Regions from separate parts of the Homo sapiens genome. Here all the other regions are linked to region 2. The links are contacts of gene promoters, found by promoter capture Hi-C in blood cells and fetal thymus (Javierre and others, 2016). All regions are on one chromosome and are shown on one strand. The core of a region is centred on a gene start or on the middle of the fragment in contact, and the rest is flanking DNA. Distances in the headings are between cores, read along the strand shown.

Region 1 (2,700 bases), core at 94-2,593, 3.1 Mb before region 2:
AATTCAGTGCACAATTCAGTTGATGTATTTAATAACCAATAGGTTACCAATTTTGAAGAAAATGAAACATAGTGTGAAAAAATGTTTTCATGATTTGGACATGTTTAAAGAAATCAACATTCCATCCAAGTTTTGATTAACCTATAGATGGGTCAAAAAAATTGAATTGTAATCTACATTTAATAAGAAGTCCTCTGGCTATGAATAGCAAGGGATTGTGCAATTATTAGATGTTAATTTGGAAAAAAGTTTCAAGGTGAGACTGAGGAACAAGGAAACAGATCATTGTCTGCACTATATCATTAATGATGTTATCACATTGAAAAAGTATGTCCCAAGATATTATGTATAAAACATTATATTCTCTTTTAGTAACAACTAAAAAAGTGACACAAAAGTAAAAGAGTCAACAAAAAAGCAAAGAATTTCAAAAACATTCAAGGATGACCAATTCACGTAAGGGGAGTCAGAAGAATGGCACAGTGGTGGTGGTGTGGTGGAGAACCAGGTAATGAGATACAAATTGTGGTCAAAATCTTAACTTTTTGTTTGGATGATGGATTTACAAGCACTTACTACATTATTAGAAATAACAATAAAACTAAAAAGCAGTCCAAGTATGGACCAAAGATGAAAATATGTCAGACCAAGATCCAAAATGAAAGAATTTGGCAAGAAAAAAAAAATGTTGTTGTAAATTTTGCTAAAAAACTAGCAAAACTGGTTAACGGGTTTGCCCCCAAAATTAAATATGCTAATTTGTTCTGAAATGAGTAGTCCAAAACCTGGCAGTTTTGCTCTAAGTTTCACCCTGAATTTTCATATTTGAACGCATTTAACACTCAAAACGAAACCTGGGTGTGGGAACTGTCCCACACCACATCCACCTCAATTCAGATGATTTGTCCCGAGTTCAATGAAGCTCATGTGAACTGAAAATGATGATTTTGGCAGAGTTCTGATCTAATTTCTACTTTACAATAGCCCTTTTCATGTCAAAAATTGATCTTGTTTCTACCACATCGGCAATAATAATAACTGACGTATACTATGTGCTGTGTGCTGTTTTAAGGCTTTGCATTTAATAATTAATTTAATTCATCCAGAAACTCCATGAAATAGGTGTAATACCATCTTCACTGTACAGATGAGAACAGAAAGACCCAGAGATGTTAAGTAATTTCCTCAGGGTTTACATCTAGTTAGTAGAGAATGTTATTACTACTAGGAGTCTGGCTCCAGAGCCTGGCTCAACCATTACGCTATACTACTCTTTGTAGAGGTATTTTGAGCATTGACTTTTTGTAAACCAGTCAGACATATTTGTAAGGTCTGCCATTGGGTAAAGACCTGATACATTTTTCCTTAATTATGTAACCAATCTGATTTTGTTTTGCTTCATGGATCTGGGTGCAACTCATCAAAATATTTCTGTGTATACATTGCTAGAAACATAAAACAAATTCTCTAGATATCTCAATAATGCATTAATCACATAGACATTAATCTGGGCTAAAGATATACCAATAAGGTAACTTCCCCTGTTTGAACAAACTTTATAACCAAACATCCTCTTTGACCTTATATTTGAGGTTATAACCAAGATAAAAACATAATTCCATTAGATCACTGTTTCATCACGTTGATAACCATAACGGCAAAACCATAAGTGTATTCCCAATGTATTCTTTTGAAAAACCAAACAGTTCACCCAAATTCAAATTCCAAGTCTGAGGGACCTAGGTTAGATCACATGTCTAGCTCCTGAGCAGGAGAGGGCAGAGTACCTGGACTGAGGGTCCCACCACAGCTACATGCAACAGGAAAGTTCTCTAAAGGTAAATGGGCACTCTTGTTATCAAGAGAAGGAGGAAGGGATGTCAGGCAGGCAAAAACAACAGATGTCTTCTATATTGTTGCAAATTTTCTCCGTGTTACCCGATCTAAAAAAAAAACTTTACAGTTATCTTAGTTATTTTCTTGACAGCATTTGGCAGTGCTGACACTTGCTTTGGCTTCTGTGAAATCACTCTTTCCATGTTCCTACTCTGCTCTTACTCATCTTCATGAAATTTTTTTCCTGCTAGTGTGTTCTTGGCCTTCTTGATGTCTCACTCTGTACTTATCCGTATTGCCTTATTAAAAACTACTACGTTGGGCCACTACATAAATTATGATGGATCCTGCATCTTTGTTTCCTACTCAGACCCCTCTCAAGAGCTTGAGATCTATATATTTAACATCTTCCTAGACAGTTTTATTTGCCTATTTCATGGAGACATAAAAGAATATAGTAAAAGAAGTAAAATCTCCATTTACCTTTCTTTCTTCTATTTTCCTAATTACCATATCACTGAATGACACTACTAATTACCATATCACTGAATGACACTACTATTTACTCCATCAGCCATGCTGGTCACCTGTGGAAAATCCTAGATTTCTTCCTTTCATCCAGTCTTCTGCCTCTCCTCCTCCCTACCACATCTCTTTACAAACACACATGGAGGTACCCCAAGTGTTTTAGATGCTACATTGGTAGTTGTTCACATATGTTGTTCTTTCTGCAGGAAACACCCTTCTCCATTTATTAGTTCACATTTTTGCTTTTTAAAACTAAGCTCAATCCCGGGAAATTCCTCTTGGATGTTCTGCTGATTTAGGTATGTCCTCTCTGTCTCCATAATGCTTATCACATAG
Region 2 (2,807 bases), core at 51-2,550:
CAAAGCTGAGCGGCCAGGGCGCTGCTGTTCCTTTAAAGTATTATTAAAAATAATATTTCAGCTTTTAAGTAACTCCTTGAGTTTGAATCAAAAGCTGGAAGAACCTCCTGGGCTCTATGAGCACCTCTGAATATGTCTGACTCTACATTCTAGAGGCTTCAATGTATTTATAATTTTGGCTCATAGATTCTCCACATCTTTTCAGCTTCAATTCTTGCTTTTCCCAGAAACAATTTTCAAGCAGGAGAGAATATTGATTGGACTTGATTTTCTCAGTTTGGGCAGAGGTTTGCAGACACTTTGCAGGTTGCCAGACCCTTCGTCCAGCCACCTGTCAGCTGGGGGTCATATGGTATAGAAAGCAGTCATTTCTATGCAAGGTACTGCTTGGGCCTGCCTCCCTCAAAGGGGTAGGGGATGCGGGCTGGACAAAGGGCTCGTGATCAAGTAAAGCACTGTGATGACAGCTGCTATTTCTATATCTCCCTAGACTTGTCTTCTAAATTAAACCTTGACTCCTCCCTTCCAAGCTGGAGCCACTGCTAACTACTGGGAGAGCCTTAGCAGATAAAGTCTCATGCCTCCAGGCGTTTGTGCATCCCATTTTCTCTGCAGAGTAGAATCTCCCTTCTACTTTTGTGCTCCTGGGGACGTCCTACTCTTCTTCCCCAGTTGGCTCTAAGGTTATCACATCGGTGAAGTGTTTCATTATCACTTTTTAGAAGAAACTGAGTCTTTTAGAGAAGTTAAGTGACTTTCTGCATTCATACTCATACTCAAGAAAATCTAACTCCACAATAACCAAAAATAAAAAGTAGAAAAAAACCCACAAGTGATGAGAAAAAAAAAAATCAAAAGTTATAAAAAATAAATGAAAAAATGAAATTAAAGGAAAAAAGATTTTTTAAAAAAGTAAAAAAAAGAAAAGAAATCTAACTCCAGAGCTCTGACACAAAATGCCTTAGGTGTTATTCTCAATGAGAGAAAAGGGACGTGAATCTTTAAGTGATTAAGTGAATCTTTAAGTAAATCTGTCGTACTAGCGTTTCAGGCGGCTCAAACACCACACGCTCCCGACTACGGCGGAATGGAGAGAATGTGCGCATGCTCGGCGGGAATCTGCGCATGCTCGGCGGGAATCTGCGCATGCTCGGAGAGAATCTGCGCATGCTCGGCCGGAATCTGCGCGAGCTCGGCGGGAATCTGCGCAAGCTCGGCGGGAATCTGCGCATGCTCAGAGTTCCGGGGCACGGTTTCCCCGCCCCTTTCAGGCCTAGCAGGAAACGAAGCGGCTCTTTCCGCTATCTGCCGCTTGTCCACCGGAAGCGAGTTGCGACACGGCAGGTTCCCGCCCGGAAGAAGCGACCAAAGCGCCTGAGGACCGGCAACATGGTGCGGTCGGGGAATAAGGTATAAAGAAAGCCATGGACTTGGGCTTTACCCGGACTGGGGATCCGGAGAGGGTGGTTCGGAAGCAGGAATCGTGGGATCGCGGTCAAGACAAAGAATGGGGCAAGAGAAGATCATGGTGGTGGGCTCAGTCAGGAGGGCCGGGACCGAGGGATGCGCTATGAGAAAAGCTGGAGATTTGGGGCTCCAAGACCTGAATTTGAGCCTCGCTGACTCCACCTCTTCCATTACCCACCCATCCCATCCCTCTTCTCCCTCTCTACCTGCTCTTTGTCTCACCTGCCTCCCCACCCGCCTCCCCTCTCTCTCTCTTTATCCCATTCCACTCCCTAGCCCCACTTCCTCTATTACTTCCGAGCCTGGGTTCTTAAGATCTCTATGAGAATGAAAATTAGCTGTGATAAAGCAACTATCCCACAGGGCTTGTTGTAAAACTTAAGAGAGGGACTATCTGTGACTAAAATAACTTAAACTGTAAAGCGTCGTATTATTAGCTTTATAATAACGTAGTATCCCGCATTTATTGAAAGCCCACTCTGTGAGGGACGGATCTAAACCTTTTATTCTTATCTCATTTAATCTTCACAACCCCTTGAAGTGAAAACTATTTATCCCCATTTTGCAAGTGGGAAAACCGAGGAATAAAGAACTGTGGGCTTTTCCTGGTGAAATCCGGATTTGAATCCAAGCTGTCTGGTTTCAGGGCCCTGGAGAACCCCTGTGTTGCTAGAAATCTATGACCATTGGTGTCCCAGATCAGTAACAGAAATTACAATGAATTTTAAAGTGATTTTTTTTTTTCAACATAAAAGAGTGGTAGTTGTCTCTGAAGGGTCACTAGAGGGAGATGTGGTTCCAGGGATTAATGAATTTATTCAATACAGATAAACAAGATACGAGTTTGAGCAACTGATCCCTAGTTCCCTCAACTCCTCATTGAGAAATGTTGATTAAAACGATCATGAACTTTTAATAATGCCACTCACCTCCTTTTTTCGTCCTCTTTCAGCTGCTGAAAACTTTGTAGCTCTAGTGGAGGAGCTGTTTGTTGCAGATGAACTGGAAGTAAAATTCTAACAGCCTGTATTGCTTCGGTATAGAAATGAAGAGTTGCTATGCTACCCGGTTTCTCTTTCTCAGTTTTCTTACTGCTGCCAGATAGGAACTCAGAAATATAGACCATTCTGCTTCCAGACAATAAGTTCCATATTTGAAACCCTTTGATGGCACTTACTGGATACCTAATTCATGACAAAAGTGCTTTAGTCCTCTAGAGTTTTCTGGTTTAAAAGTAGCTTTTGTGGGTGTGTATCAAATAAGTGCAGCAGCATATTTTGTGACTCTTAAGTTTTTTTAGGTTATCATGCCCCAGGCATTGAAACTGGGATGTGCATTTT
Region 3 (2,708 bases), core at 63-2,562, 3.3 Mb after region 2:
CTTTTAAAAAGAACTATCTAGTCTTATGTTTTCCCGATTCCTCTCCTCCCATTCTCTTGTAAATCCTCTAGAATGAGGTTTTACCGCTGTCATTCCACCGCAACTTTTCTTGTCAAGGTCAAAAGCAACCTCCACAATGCTGAACCCAATGGTCGATTTTCAGTCCCCATTGTCGTTGACCCATGGGTCCTATTTGACATAGCCGTTTGCTCTCCTGGGAACACTCTCTTCACTTGGCCTTCCAGACACTTACTACCCTCACCACCACTCCTTTGGGTCTCTTCTGGCTCCTCCTCATCTCCCATCTTTAATGTTGTTATTATTTTATTATATTCATGTTTTTAAAATAGAGATGAGGTCTCACTTTGTTGGCCAGGCTGGCCTCCAACTTTGACCTCAAGCGATACTCTTACCTGGGGCTCCCAAACTGCTGGGATTACAGGCATGAGCCACGGTGCCTGGCCTCATCTCCCATCTTTAAATGGAAGGCCTCAGGGCTCAGTGCTTAGAAATCTCTCTACCCTCACTCCCTTGCTAATGTCCAATCTCATGACTTTAAATAGTATCCATACCCTGACAATTGTCAAATTTATGTATCCCTAGCCCAGATATCTCTTCTGAACTATATATATTCTCATATATCCAATTGTTTTTGCACAGTCTCCATATGTGTGCCTAATAGGAATCTCCAGTGTAATATGTCTTAATCTGAACTCCTTGTTCCCCAAACCTATTCCATCCACATTCTTCCCATCTCAGTGTTGTGCTGAACCCCTGTCCACTCCAATAAGGAAGGCCCCAGGTTCAAGAGGCCAAAGAAGAGACCCAGAGCCAGCAAACAAGACAAGGTTTTTTTTTTTTTGAGAGGGAGTCTCACTCTGTTGCCCAGGCTGGAGTGCAGTGGTGCGATCTCGGTTCACTGCAACCTCCACCTCCTGTGTTCAAGTGATTCTCCTGCCTCAGCCTCCTGAGGATTACAGACATGCACCACCATGCCCAGCTAATTTTGTATTTTTAGTAGAGACAGGGTTTCACTATGTTGGCCAGGCTGGTCTCGAACTCCTGACCTCAAGCAATCTGCCCTCCTCAGCCTCCCGAAGTGCTGGGATCACAGGCGTGAGCCACTGGGCCCGGCCGACGTGGGGTCTATTGAGGAGAACTTACATACAAGATGGTCCAGTGGTGGCGAGCTGGACAGTAGAACCACTGTCACCTGCAGAAAGCACGCATTTTCACTCAACACCTGCTCCCTAACAACCTCTACCTGGCAACCTTCATTTAACCCAAAACAAAGCGCCTTGATCCCCTGTATGGCCCTTGTTCCACAGGATGGGAAGGGGGCTCAGAGGTTCCTCATAGATGAGGATCTCTAGGTTGCCCACTCCAGGATTTCTTAGCTCAGAACTCCAAACACACATCAAGTATATCTGCCATTCAGGGTCATTCTCAGGGTGTGCTTCAGTTATTGCTGTCAGGTGCATCTGCCATACATTCAGTAAATGGCAACTTTGTCCTTCCAGTTTCAGGTCATAACTCTTGGCGTTAGCCTTGGTGCATCTCTTTCTCTTGCACCCCATGTCAGATCCATCAGCAAACCCTGCCTCCCAAGCTCCTTCACAAAGCCTTCCCTAGCATCTCCAGAGGGAAGTGCTTAGGGAGGCCAATCCTCCTCTCCTAGCGCCAGTGTCATCTCCTGTCTTAGGATCCACAGGAAGAAGTCTCTGTCAACTGGAAGTAACCTGCTGGCCTGTGACATGTAATCAATTTTACTTTGCTGCTGCAATCCTCAGTGCCTGGCAGGTAGTGGATATACAATAAACACTTACTGAATTAAAGAAATTTTGAAAAATAATTGTTCTTTGTGAAAAAGGGCCCTCATGGGATAATACTCAGCGATAAAAAGGAACGAGTGGTTGCTAAATGCAACGCTGTGGATGGATCTCAGGTGCCTTATGCTGAGTGAAAAAAATGACAAAATTATAGAGATGGAGAACAGATTAGTGGTTGCTCAGGGCTAGGGAGGATTTGGGGAGGGATGTGTGACTATGAAGGAGTAGCTCAGGAATATCTTGATGGTGATGGATAGTTCTATGTCTTGATTATAATGGTGGTTATGACTCTAACCATGATAAAGTTAGGGTTGCCAAATGAAATACAGAATGCCCAGTTTAATTTGAATTTAAGATAAACAAGGGCTGGGCGTGGGTGGCTTACACCTCTAATCCCAGCACTTTGGGAGGCCAAGGCAGGCGGATCACTTGAGGTCAGGAGTTCGAGACCAGCCTTACCAACATGGTGAAGCCCCATCTCTACTAAAAATACAAAAATTAGCCAGGCATGGTAGCGGGCACCTGTAATCCCAGCTACTAGGGAGGCTGAGGCAGGAGAATCGCATGAACTTGGGAGGTGGAGGTTGAAGTGAGCTGAGATCGTACCACTACACTCTAGCCTGGGCAACAGAGCAAGACTCCATCTCAAAAAAAAAGAAAAAAAAAGATAAGGAATAATCTTTTCAGTATAAGTATGTCCCAAATATTGCATGGGATATGCTTATACTAAAAACAAAATTTAACTGAGTTTCCTGTATTTTCATTTGCTAAATCTGGCAAACCTAGAAAAAAATAGCATCAAACCCTACGCACACACATTTTACCTGTGTCACTTTCCTGAGTGTAATACTGTGCTGTGCTTATCTAAGATGTAACCAT
Region 4 (2,700 bases), core at 93-2,592, 3.1 Mb after region 2:
TCTGATGACCTCTCTACTACTTACTGTTAACTGATGGCTCTCCTCCTCTGAGACATAAATTCAACCTCCCTGATACAGTCAAGAAGTCTTCTGAGGCAGGGCACAGTGGCTCACGCCTGTAATCCCAGCACTTCGGGAGGCTGAGGTGGGCGGATCACCTGAGGTCAGGAGTTTGAGACCTGGCCAACATAATGAAACCCTGTGTCTACCAAAAATACAAACATTAGCCAAGAGTGGCGGTGCACACCTGTAATCCTAGCCACTGGAGAGGCTGAGGCCAGAGAATCGCTTGAACCTGAGAGGAAGAAGTTGCAGTGAGCCGAGATCATGCCATTGCACTCCAGGCTGGGTGACAGGAGCAAAACTCCCTCTTGGGGAAAAAAAAAAAAGGGGGAAGTCTCTGAGGCTGGGTGCAGTGGCTCATGCCTGTAATCCCAGCACTTTGGGAGGTCAAGGTGGGCGGATCACCTGAGGTCAAGAATTTAAGACCAGCCTGGCGCCACAACATGGTGAAACCCCGTCTCTACTAAAAATACAAAAACTAGCCAAGAGTGGTGGTGGCGTGCTCCTGTAATCCCAGCTACTGGGGAGGTGGAGGCATGAGAATCACTTGAACCCAGGAGGTGGAGGTTGCAGTGAGCCAAGATCACCCAACTGCACTCCAGCCTGGGCGACAAAGTGAGGCTCTGTCTCAAAAACAAAACAAAAGTAATCCCAGCACTTTGAGAGGCCGAGGATGGCTCATTTGAGGTCAGGAGTTCAAGACCAGCCTGGCCAACCTAGTGAAACCCCGTCTCTACTAAAAATACAAAAATTAGCCGGGTGTGGTGGCGCATGCCTGTAGTCCCAGCTACTCAGGAGGCTGAGGTGGGAGAACCGCTTGAACCCGGGAGGCAGAGGTTGCAGTGAGCCGAGATCATGCCACAGCACTCCAGCCTGGGCGGCAGAGCAAGACTCCATCTCAAAAAAAAAAAAAAAAAAGTATTCTGAGATTTGACGCTGGCCTGTCTTTACAGCAACAGCAAACCCCAAACAGCTTGTCCTCCCCACTGCTCAGTTGTGCTGCCCTCCCCCACCTCTGCTCTACACACACACCCCCTATCCCTTCACTTGGCAAATGTCTCACTTACCTTTTTATTTTATTTTATTTTATTTTATTTTATTTTATTTTATTTTATTTTATTTTATTTTTTTGAGATGGAGTCTCGCTCTGTCGCCCAGGCTGGAGTGCAGTGGCATAATCTTCAGCTCACTGCAACCTCCACCTTCCGGGTTCAAGCGATTCTCCTGCCTCAGCCTCCCAAGTAGCTGGGACTACAGGCTCACACCACCATGCCCAGTTAATTTTTTTGTATTTTTAGTAGAGACATGGTTTCATCATGTTGGTCAGGCTGGTCTCAAACTCCTGACCTCAAATGATCCACCCGCCTCTGCCTCCCAAAGTGCTGGGATTACAATCGAGAGCTACCATGCCCGACTTTCACTTATCTTTTAAGATGCACTTCAGGCCACACCTCATCTACCAATGTCCCCTGATATCCCTCACCATGCCACCCCCCACCCCAATGTCAGTCCCACTCTCCTAGTGCTTTTGTAGTCTATTGGGCATACTTCTGTTTTCCCACTTACCACAGGGAATCCTTATACCCTCTCTGAAAGTATGTGGATATAGAGTATATAGGTCTGTGTGTGTGTGTGTGTGTGTGTGTGTGTGTGTGTATACAGATACATATATACGTATGTATACCCGCCACAATACTGCTTATTCTTGAAGGCAGAGACAATGTCTTATCATCTGAATATCCTCAAAGCCTAGCATAGTGTCTGGCACATAGTAGGTGCTCAAAAAATGCGTGTTAGACTAAATTGAACTAATACTAGAGTAACCAGTTATAGATTTTGAAGCAACTAGTGAAAAGAGTTTGGTGACTGATACATGGCTATGTTATTGATGCATGCCTTTGCTTGTCCATTACTGTTCTAGAGGGAATAGTAGCTAGGTTAAAATAATCGGCAGATAGACTTGTGAGTTCTTTTTCCCTGGACTAGGTTAAAGGCAATTCAAACAATCTAGAGCTGGAGATTCGTATTTGCTGGTTTGGGAGCGGGGTTTTCTGAGTTTAAGGTAAGATTGCCCAACTAGCTTGATCTTCTGTGATTGCATCAAATTATTATGTTGTTTGGAAAACAATTTTGGATTTAGACTCTTTTTTGAGACAGAGTCTTGCTCTGTTGGCCAGGCTGGAGTGCAGCTGTAAGGTCATAGCTCACTGCAGCCTTAAACTCCTGGGCTCAAGTGACCCCTTTGCCCCAGCCTCCCGAGTAGCTGGGACTACAGGTGCCCACTACCATGCCCAGCTAATTTTTTGTTTGTTTTGAGACAGAATTTCACTCTTGTTGCATAGGCTGGAGTGAAATGGTGCAATCTCAGCTCACCGCAAACTCCACCTCCCGGGTTCAAGTGATTCTCCTGCCTCAGCCTCCCTAGTAGCTGGGATTACAGGCATGCACCACCACACCTGGCTAATTTTGTATTTTTAGTAGAGACAGGGTTTCTCCATGTTGGTAAGGCAGGTCTCAAACTCCCGACCTCAGGTGATCCACCTGCCTCGGCCTCCCAAAGTGCTGGGATTACAGGTGTGAGCCACCGCACCTGGCCCAGCTAATTTTTAAAGTATCTTTTAGAGACAAGGTCTTGCT

The links. The method cuts DNA at HindIII sites, captures the fragments that hold promoters and counts their contacts. A CHiCAGO score of 5 or more calls a contact.
Region 1: a fragment that was not itself captured here is called in contact with the fragment with the promoter of XRCC5 in region 2 in 1 of 17 cell types (fetal thymus); the score reaches 5.6 in fetal thymus.
Region 3: a fragment that was not itself captured here is called in contact with the fragment with the promoter of XRCC5 in region 2 in 1 of 17 cell types (neutrophils); the score reaches 7.8 in neutrophils.
Region 4: a contact is called between a fragment that was not itself captured here and the fragment with the promoter of XRCC5 in region 2, in 1 of 17 cell types (neutrophils). The highest score is 5.7, in neutrophils.

The regions. Positions count from the first base shown.
Region 1 is chr2:213,015,102-213,017,801 of GRCh38, forward strand. All of the region lies in intron 7 of IKZF2 (IKAROS family zinc finger 2), which reads right to left. Among named protein-coding and RNA genes, the nearest start is that of MIR4776-2, 90 kb to the left of the region's middle. The HindIII fragment of the contact is 3,046 bases long and covers 1-2,700 here.
Region 2 is chr2:216,108,048-216,110,854 of GRCh38, forward strand. XRCC5 (X-ray repair cross complementing 5) reads left to right here and starts at 1,301. Exons shown (of 21, transcript NM_021141.4): 1 at 1,301-1,410. The coding sequence starts at 1,390. RefSeq lists an enhancer at 1,025-1,646. The HindIII fragment of the contact is 16,954 bases long and covers 1-2,807 here.
Region 3 is chr2:219,394,112-219,396,819 of GRCh38, forward strand. The region is part of intron 2 of DNPEP-AS1 (DNPEP antisense RNA 1); the gene reads left to right. It also overlaps a transcript of DNPEP not described here. Among named protein-coding and RNA genes, the nearest start is that of DNPEP-AS1, 6.9 kb to the left of the region's middle. The HindIII fragment of the contact is 3,679 bases long and covers 1-2,708 here.
Region 4 is chr2:219,187,466-219,190,165 of GRCh38, forward strand. No RefSeq gene overlaps it. Among named protein-coding and RNA genes, the nearest start is that of RETREG2, 11 kb to the left of the region's middle. The HindIII fragment of the contact is 8,156 bases long and covers 1-2,700 here.